2 separate regions of the Homo sapiens genome follow, and region 1 is linked to region 2. The links are contacts of gene promoters, found by promoter capture Hi-C in blood cells and fetal thymus (Javierre and others, 2016). All regions are on one chromosome and are shown on one strand. The core of a region is centred on a gene start or on the middle of the fragment in contact, and the rest is flanking DNA. Distances in the headings are between cores, read along the strand shown.

What was found. Contacts are between HindIII fragments. The CHiCAGO score rates a contact against its expected background, and 5 or more counts as called.
Region 1: the fragment with the promoter of FUT4 here is called in contact with the fragment with the promoter of CEP295 in region 2 in 1 of 17 cell types (total CD4 T cells); the score reaches 5.4 in total CD4 T cells.

Annotation. Positions count from the first base shown.
Region 1 is chr11:94,541,264-94,545,239 of GRCh38, reverse strand. It overlaps FUT4 (fucosyltransferase 4), which reads right to left and starts at 1,319. Exons shown (of 1, transcript NM_002033.4): 1 at 1-1,319. The coding sequence starts at 1,106. RefSeq lists a silencer at 562-1,131. The HindIII fragment of the contact is 5,462 bases long and covers 1-2,636 here.
Region 2 is chr11:93,658,796-93,663,091 of GRCh38, reverse strand. It overlaps CEP295 (centrosomal protein 295), which reads right to left and starts at 1,410. Exons shown (of 30, transcript NM_033395.2): 1 at 1,318-1,410. RefSeq lists an enhancer at 1,287-1,416 and a silencer at 1,577-1,646. The HindIII fragment of the contact is 3,556 bases long and covers 1-2,692 here.

The sequences.
Region 1 (3,976 bases), core at 70-2,569, 880 kb before region 2:
GCCTGGCGCTCGTCCCAGTGGCTCACCACCCATGCCACCAGCCCCTGTTTCCTGGACAGTGGCGGGGCCAGGCCTGAGGGCGGGTCGCCGGGGTGGCTTCTGGGGTAGAGGTAGCCATAAGGCACAAAGACGTCCGAGTCCGCCCGGTAGGAGAGCGTCCAGTTGAAGAGGTTACTTGCCAGGCTTCGCAGCCCCGGGGAGTGCGAGGGCGACTCGAAGTTCATCCAAACCCAGCGCTGGCCCGGGGGCCTGGGGCTGGAGGTCGCCAGGGCTTCTGCCGCCGCCGCTGCCTCCTCGTAGTCCAACACGCGCAGATCCACCTCCTCGGCAGTGTGCGCCTGGATGCCCCAGGGCGGGGGCCAGTCGGGGGGCCCCTTCACGAGGTCGCGGTGGTGGAAAAGCACGGCCTGAGCCTCTCCGTAGGACGCGCGGTCGGTGAGCAGGCGGCAGCCGCTGATGTTGAAGCGCAGCCGGCAGTCAGGGGGCGGCCTCGGGGCGCTATCGCGCCCCCCGAAGGGCTCCCACCACAGCAGCACGCCCACCGGTCGCGACGGGGTTGGCGACGCCCAGGGCAGCGGCGGCAGCTGCCCCCAGCAAGCGTAGGTGATCAGCGCCGTACACGTCAAGCCGGCGGCCGCCAGCACACAGACGGTCCATGGCAGCCCCCGGCCTCGGCGCCACCCGCGCCGCCCGCCCGCCGCCGCCGTCGGCGAGCCCCACGGTGCCCCCATGGCGCGAACAGGCAGCGCTGCCTCCGCTCGCCACGCGTCCGCAGGCGTGGAGGAGCGGCACCGGCTCTCATGCTGTAGCTGCGGCTCCAGCCGTCGCTGCCGCTCGCCGCTGGCCCGGGAATGGAAGGGGGCGGTCCCAGAATGCAAAGGCCGCGGGCCCTGCCCTGCTCCTCCCAAGTGCCGGGCGGGGCGAGCCGCCAGGGCAAGGTGAGCTGGCCAGGACGCCCAACCGGGCACCGCCCGTCCCTTTCTTCCACTGCGCCCGGGGCCCAGCCGGCCCGACCAGGCCCCGGGAGCCTCCTGCGGCGCCTCCGCCCACTCCTTCTCCCAGCCCGCGCCCGAGGGCTTCCGGGCCGCGCCCCACAAGCGCCTCATCCGCTACTCTTGATTCTCTCTCAACTGATCCGGTTTCCCTCTGCGCGCGCCCACCGCCCTGGCCCTCGCTCACTGTGGCCCGAACCCTCGCCTTCCAGAGGGAAGGCCCGGTTCATCCCTGGGAAGGTACAGGAGGCTCGAGACCTTCTAAAGCAGCTGCCGCGCAGGAGCAGGCCCTAGAACAGACGGAAGGCGGACCCGGCGCCGCGGAACGGAGGATAGCGTCGGCTTCCTGCCGTTGGGCCTAGCCACCCGCCAGCGACGCCCGCCGGAGGGAGGGATTGAGGGAGGGAGGGAGTCCAGAGGCCGGGGGAACGTGCGAGCAGAGGCGCGGCCACCGCATCCGTGGCCAGGATCTCGTGGCCCGCCGAGACGGTCGAATTGTGGAGGCAGCCCGCAGCGGCGTGGCCTTCAGAGTCTCTGCATTTGGTGAAGAACTTAAGTTTTCAATGTGAGTGCTCATAAGAACATTTCCTTTGCCTGCCAGCCCAGTAAAGGATAGAGAACAAAATGTTTTCTTAGCAATCAAAACATGTTCTTTCCTTTGGTCCCCTACCAAATAAGTCTGACTTGCCGGCTCATAGTAGTATTGCTTGTACCAAGACGCACAGGACTCATAAACCAAAGATGAAGATGTGACCCCCCCAAGGCCCTTGTCGTCAAGGAATTTATTGCCTGTTCAGTGAGATGAATGAATGAATATCACTATTAATTTTACCAAGCACTTAAAAAACATTTTCTGCACCCATGAAAGTTATGCAAAATAGTTTGGATGATAAAATGATGACGAAGATAAATATTCTAGCACCCAAGTTAAGGGTGTAAAGACAGTATCGCACTGGCCTCTTCTACCTTATTAGGCGACACTGGAGACATCTACGTCTACAGTCACTTGAGAAATTTTTTACCTACGGGTTGAATTTGAATTTCTGGGTGTTCGCTTTGGTTTATGATATTCAACTTTTATTCAGGGGATTTCCAAATAGATCAGGGGCGGGGCTGCTGACCTAAGGAGAGGAGAAAGTTTTGAGAGAAGTTTTAGTAGATCACAGCTGTGCATCAGTGGAGTCCCACTGATACTAGGGGAGAAATAGACAGTGCTGGGAATGGGGCAATCCTGCCAGGTGTTTTTGATGTTATGCCTACAGAAAATAAATTTGCGTTAGCCATATGAATTTAAGAATGTTTTCATTAAAAATCAAGTATAGGCCAGGCGCGGTGGCTCACGCCTATACTCCCAGCACTTTGGGAGGCCGAGGCGGGCGGATCCCGAGGTCAGGAGATCGAGACCATCCTGGCTAACACGGTGAAACTCTGTCTCCACTAAAAATAAAAAAAAATTAGCCAGGCTTGGTGGCGGGCGCCTGTAGTCCCAGCTACTCGGGAAGCTGAGGCAGGAGAATGGCGTCAACCCAGGAGGCGGAGCTTGCAGTGAGCCCAGATCGCGCCACTGCACTCCAGCCTGGGCGACAAAGCGAGACTCCGTCTCGGAAAAAAAAAAAAAAAAATCAAGCATTGTGTGTAAAAGCTTCTATAAAAGTGGCTTCCGGGTGGCGCTCTCTGCAGGGCCACAGCCTCAGTTTGGAGACTAGATGGAGGATGTTAGGTGTTCTGGCTAGGCCCATCAACCTAGTAACATTTCCTCCTGCACAGTAAAACCTTTCATAATGCTTCTGGGGTTTTTTGTTTGTTTGAAAAACAGAAATTAGAAATCAAATATTTTATTTGAAATTAGACATTTCAGTGACTTTTTTCCACTCTTACTTTTAATTAAAAGAAAAAGCTATAAATGCACAAATTACTTGTTTAAACGAAATAAAGGAAAAAGTGTATTGGCTTCTCTTTTTATGCAATTCAAGAATCCAGCCATTTATTCACATTCTTCTCCCTCTTCAGTTAAATAAGACATCACAGATAGAGCCTAACATTGTGTCTGGCACGTGGCCGGTAGGCATTTGGGAAATATTACCCTGCTTGATTGCTTCCTTCCACCACTCCCGATTTTCTCTTAAGCCTCCGAATGTTCCAATTAAGCCATCTTTTTACCTGAAGAATGCCCGAGGTCTCATGCATATCAATTTTCTTTGTGCCCTCTTACCTCGGTAGGGTTGAGACCACAAACTGCCCCTACTATACCCTTATTTGATGTGGGAGGAGGGGATACTAGGTAGTAAGGTGTGTCTGGATGAATGGAAACCAGTCGTGACTTCGCAAATTGCTGGTTGAAGGTCATACGTGATCATTGTGCATCTCATACATGCACAAACATTCACAGGGGACTGGATTGTTCTTATTTTAAAAGAGCCATTGGTAGGGTAGAGGAGAAGGAAAGGGAGGAAAGGAGTTATGGGAAATTAATAAATTTACTCACTTGTTCATTTAACAAATTGGGAAACAAATGCAAAACACGGTTTCTACCTTCAAAAATCTACGAGAGAAACAGATAGTGGGGAGGGAAGGGATCATGGAAGGCTTTGAGGAGGTGGCTCCTGGAATAATTAGGAATCATTACAATGCAGAGGAAGAGGGCTGAGGTGTTAGTTGCCACAGAGGGAGCAGCACTGCAGAGGCCAGGGAGGGAAGACTGGGGCAGTAGGCGAGGAATTACTAGGGTATAGTTTGGCGAAGGAGATGGTGTTTATCCTGCAGGCTGTCGAGAAAGTCCTTGGAAGGCTTTAACAAAGGAAGGAAGCGATATTCATTTTTAAAATGAATTCTTATTTTTATTACGTATAAGGAGGGTGAGTATATGGATGGGGACACGGGGGGGCTGCGGAATGCTGACTGTTAATGTAGGCTCTGGTTAATGGGTGTGTTTGGTTATGGAAGTTCATCAAACTGTATGCTTACATATGTACTTTTATGGGTGG
Region 2 (4,296 bases), core at 161-2,660:
ATGTCCCCCTTAATCTGGGACAGTTTCTCAGTCTGTCTTTTCAAGACCCTGTCATTTTTGAAAATACTGGCCAAGTACTTTGTTGAATGTCCCTCCATTTAGATTTGTCTAATCTTATGTGATTAAACTGAGGTTATGTATTTTTGGCAAGAACACCACAGAATTGATTAGGCACCTTTTCAGTGCATTGTTATCAAGAGGTAAATGATGCTGAATTTTGGTCACTTGGTTAAGATGATGTCCACCAGGTTTCTCCTCTGTAGTTACTACTTTTCCTTTATAAATATCTCATGAAGACAGAGTAGAGGCTACAGAAATATGCTTTTCATCATACTTTTGCCCATTGACGTTAGTATCCATTGATGACTGTTGTCTGAAACAACTACTGTGGTGTTTACCAAATAGTATTTTCTATTTCCATTATTCCTTCTACAATTATCAATCGGAATCCTGCTGTAAGGAAGTTTTCCCTGCTGCCCCATTTACTTGTTTATTAATTATTTATTCTTAGTAATATGGATTTTTAAATTCTACATTTTATTACTATCCAATATTGAAGATTATACTACTTATCTTGCAAGATTTCGTCCTGAGGATTAAATGGCTCCTGGTACATAGTAATCACAAAATTAACACTAAACTTGGAAGATCTGGGTTCAAGACCCAACACTGCCACTTATTAGCAGGAAGATACTGGCCAAGTCACTGAAGTCACTTTGGTTTCGTTTTCTTAAACTGTATAAAGGGAATAATAATATCTACCCCAAAAGGTTTGTTCTGACGTCTATGTGACTTAGCGTGAAGTCTTCAAATACACTCTAAGTATTAAGGACTCAAAAGTTCACCATTGTTTTAAAAGTTGAGTTTGTGACAGGATTGAATAACTGTGAGATTAAGGTGGCAGACACCAAAAGAGAGCGTGCTCTTTGCATGAAACGATCCAGGCAAGGCTCTTTTAACAGCTACCAGGTGGCAGGCCATGTCCGCGGGTGATCTGGGGGAAGCGCCCCTCCCCCGACACGGAAGCTCCGCGACAGGGGAGGCTGCGTGGGAAGCTCGCGCGACCCGACCCCAGGAGAGCGCGCAAAGCCTCTCGCACTGAGTTACCGGGTCTGGTCCGGACACTCCTTACAGCCGCCAGCCCGACCGCGGGCAGGGCCCACGGCCTGCGGAGCCTGAGAAACGCGAGCCGTACCTGCGTTCGCAACAAGGCGCCTTCCTGGGATCCCATTCCTCCGGAATACAATCCCAGCTCTTGGGCCTCGGGGAGTCATGCTCCTACGGGGCGACTGGGAAGCCAGTGCATCCCTGACTCACCTGAGAACCCGGGGCCTGGACACAGTAACCGCAGCTCAGAGCAAGCCAGCCTGGTAAGCTCCTGCCCATCAGCTGCCCAGCAGCCGTTTCTGCGCCTGCGGGAGAGCCATCGCCGAGCCGCCGTCACTTCCGTCATTCAAACCGCCCGCCAATGGCCGGACCAAACCGCGGGAATAGGCCCTGTCCCGCCTTCCTCGGGGGCCGCCGGGAAGGCTGCGCGGTGTTAAAAACCCCGCGCCCCGCGCACGCGCACAGGCACGCGCCAGCCCCAGCCTGCCTAGGGGCCCATTATTTGTCACACCTGTCAGGCTTTGACGTTTTCCCGTATGGGCCGCGCTCGGTGGCTCGCGCCTGTAATCCCAGCACTTTGGGAGGCCAAGGCGGGAGGATCACTTGAGCCCAAGAGTTCGAGGTTATGTATTTTTGGTTATGAGTTCAAGACCAAGTCCTTTTAAAAACATGGTGAAACCTCATCTTTACAAAAAATACGACAACAGCAAAAATTAGCCGTGCGTGGTGGTGGGCGCCTGTAATCCCAGCTACTCGGGAGGCTGAGGCAGGAGAATCGCTTGAACCCAGGAGGTGGAGGTTGCAGTGAGCCGAGATCCCGCCAGTACTGCACTCCAGCCTGGGCGACAGAGCCAAAGCCTGTCTAAAAAAAAAAAAAAAAAGTGCAGAGCCATGAGGGTGACTTTTGTTTTAAGGCCCCATCATGAAGATATCTTGGGATATGCATCCTTTTCTGTACTGACTACGGAATTCATTGGTACTATTATGCGCAGTTAACGTCTTATAGCTTTCATTTAAGGCCTCCAGCTCATAACAACAATGAGCCGTATGTTACCCTGTGCCTCCAGAGGTACAGCGCACGGAGAGCACCTCACGGATTTATCTGCTGTAAATAACCAATAATCAGGCGGTGAGCACAGGTTAATACCTATTGAGTATCTGTTATGTGCCGAGTACATTATGTTACTCTGGATGGATTATGATGCCTATACTAGATTTTGCAGTCTGGGTCATGGGGGTTAAACATCAGGAATCAAAGGATTAAAAATGGGGGGTGGGGATGGGAAGTTGCTGACACGATCAGATCTGGCTGCACAGTGGGGAAAAGGTCAGAGAGAGTGAAGACAGAAGGCCGTATACTACTACAGAAAGTGAAAGATAATAGCAATGAGAATGGAGAGAGGTGAGTAGATTGAATAGGAAGCCAAACATCAGGAATTGGTGGTTACCTGGTTATGGGAGGCACAAGAGGAGAAAACAAGGGTGATGCCCAAGTCCCAGATACCTAGCACCTGGGTAGATAGTGATAACATCCTCCTGGAACACACATGAAGAGAACCAGGAGGGAGAAGTAATAAGTTAAGCTTTGAATATTTTGAATTTGAGCTGTTTATGAGATATCTAGACAAAGGGATGCATTTCAGAAACTTAGGACACAAAATTAGCAGTACTTGACAAACAATTGCATGTGAGATTGAGAGAAAAGGGAAAGTGAAGTTGATTTCATAGGCCACTAGCTTGGGTAGCAGTGTTGATTCTTGATTGTAAAGGGAGAAATCAGAAATGGCAGTTAAGTGGGTAGGGTGATGAGCCAAGCTCTGTGTATATTGAACTTCATGTGCCTGTAGAACATCCAGTGATGTACTGTAAGCAGATGAATACATCGGTAGATAGCCCACAGAAAGAACTAGGCTAAGCATAAAGGGATTTCCTTGTTACATGAGTAATAACAAACGCTAGCGGAATGGATGAGATCACTTAGGGAGAATTTGCAGAGTGAGAAGAGCAATGAGCAAAGAACCAAACTCCGAGGAACACCAAAACTTAAAGGGATGGAGTAGGAGGAAGGAAGGTACAGGAAGAAATAGTGTGATTCCACCTCAGATTTACAGATCAGGATACTGAGTTACAGAGAGATTCAGCAACTTGGCCAAGGGCACATTTCAGTCAAGGGTGAACCAGGACTAGAATTCACGTTTCCTTCCCAAATATTAGGGTTCTTCTCAGCCTCTCTCCCCATTTCCTGTCACATTTATCTTGAAGAATATTTGTATTCATTTTAAACATTTTTTCAGCATCCTCCATACAGGCACGGAGATACTCTTCCATACCCGATAAAACATGTGCATATTATTTCATCCCTTGGGCTAGGTTTAGTGCCTGGACATGGGTTCCTGCACATGCTGCCCCATGGCACTTAGGAGTTCTTATTGAAATGAGCTGTTTAGAGGGCTCTCTATTGATTACACTCTAAGTTTCTTGAGAACCAGGAGTGCACTTTGTTCAGTTGCCTGGCATAAATGAACAAAGCTGAATAAATGACCAAATTACATGCTTCACTTCCTCAACCTGCATCCTTGGCAGAAATTCTACACTTGGAGATTTTGAATCGAGACTTGTTCTGTTTTTAATAGAAGGCAGTGAGGAATCAAAGCCCAAGTGGGCTTAGAGTCAGAGCATCTGGCTTAGCATTACCACAGATACTTTCTAGCCGTGGGACCTCAAATCAATGAGTCTTCATTTCTGTTTTGGCGATCAATTGCTGCCAACCGAACCACCCTGGAATGTCCAACATGGGTCACTTACTATGGCTGGCAGCTGACGTTGGCTGGCAGCTGAGAGCTCAGCTGGAACTGTTGACTGGAGTGTCCACTCATGACCAGTCCATGTAGATTGGACATCTCACTCTATTGTGGCTAGTTTGGAGAGGGAGCATCTTAAGAGTGAGCATTCGCAGAGGAATAAAGTGGAAGCTGCAAGTCCTTTAAAAGGTGAGGCAGAGAACGAGTTGTAGTAAGTTGTATCACATTTTATTGGTTAAGTAACATGGAGCCAGGCCAGATTCAAGTGAAAGGGAAATGAACTCCATCTCTCAATGGAGGCAGTGACAAAGAATTTGTAGCCATCTTAATCCACCACGTTTCTTAGTAATACTTCATGTCGCCTCTCTATAGGATGGTTGTGAGACTC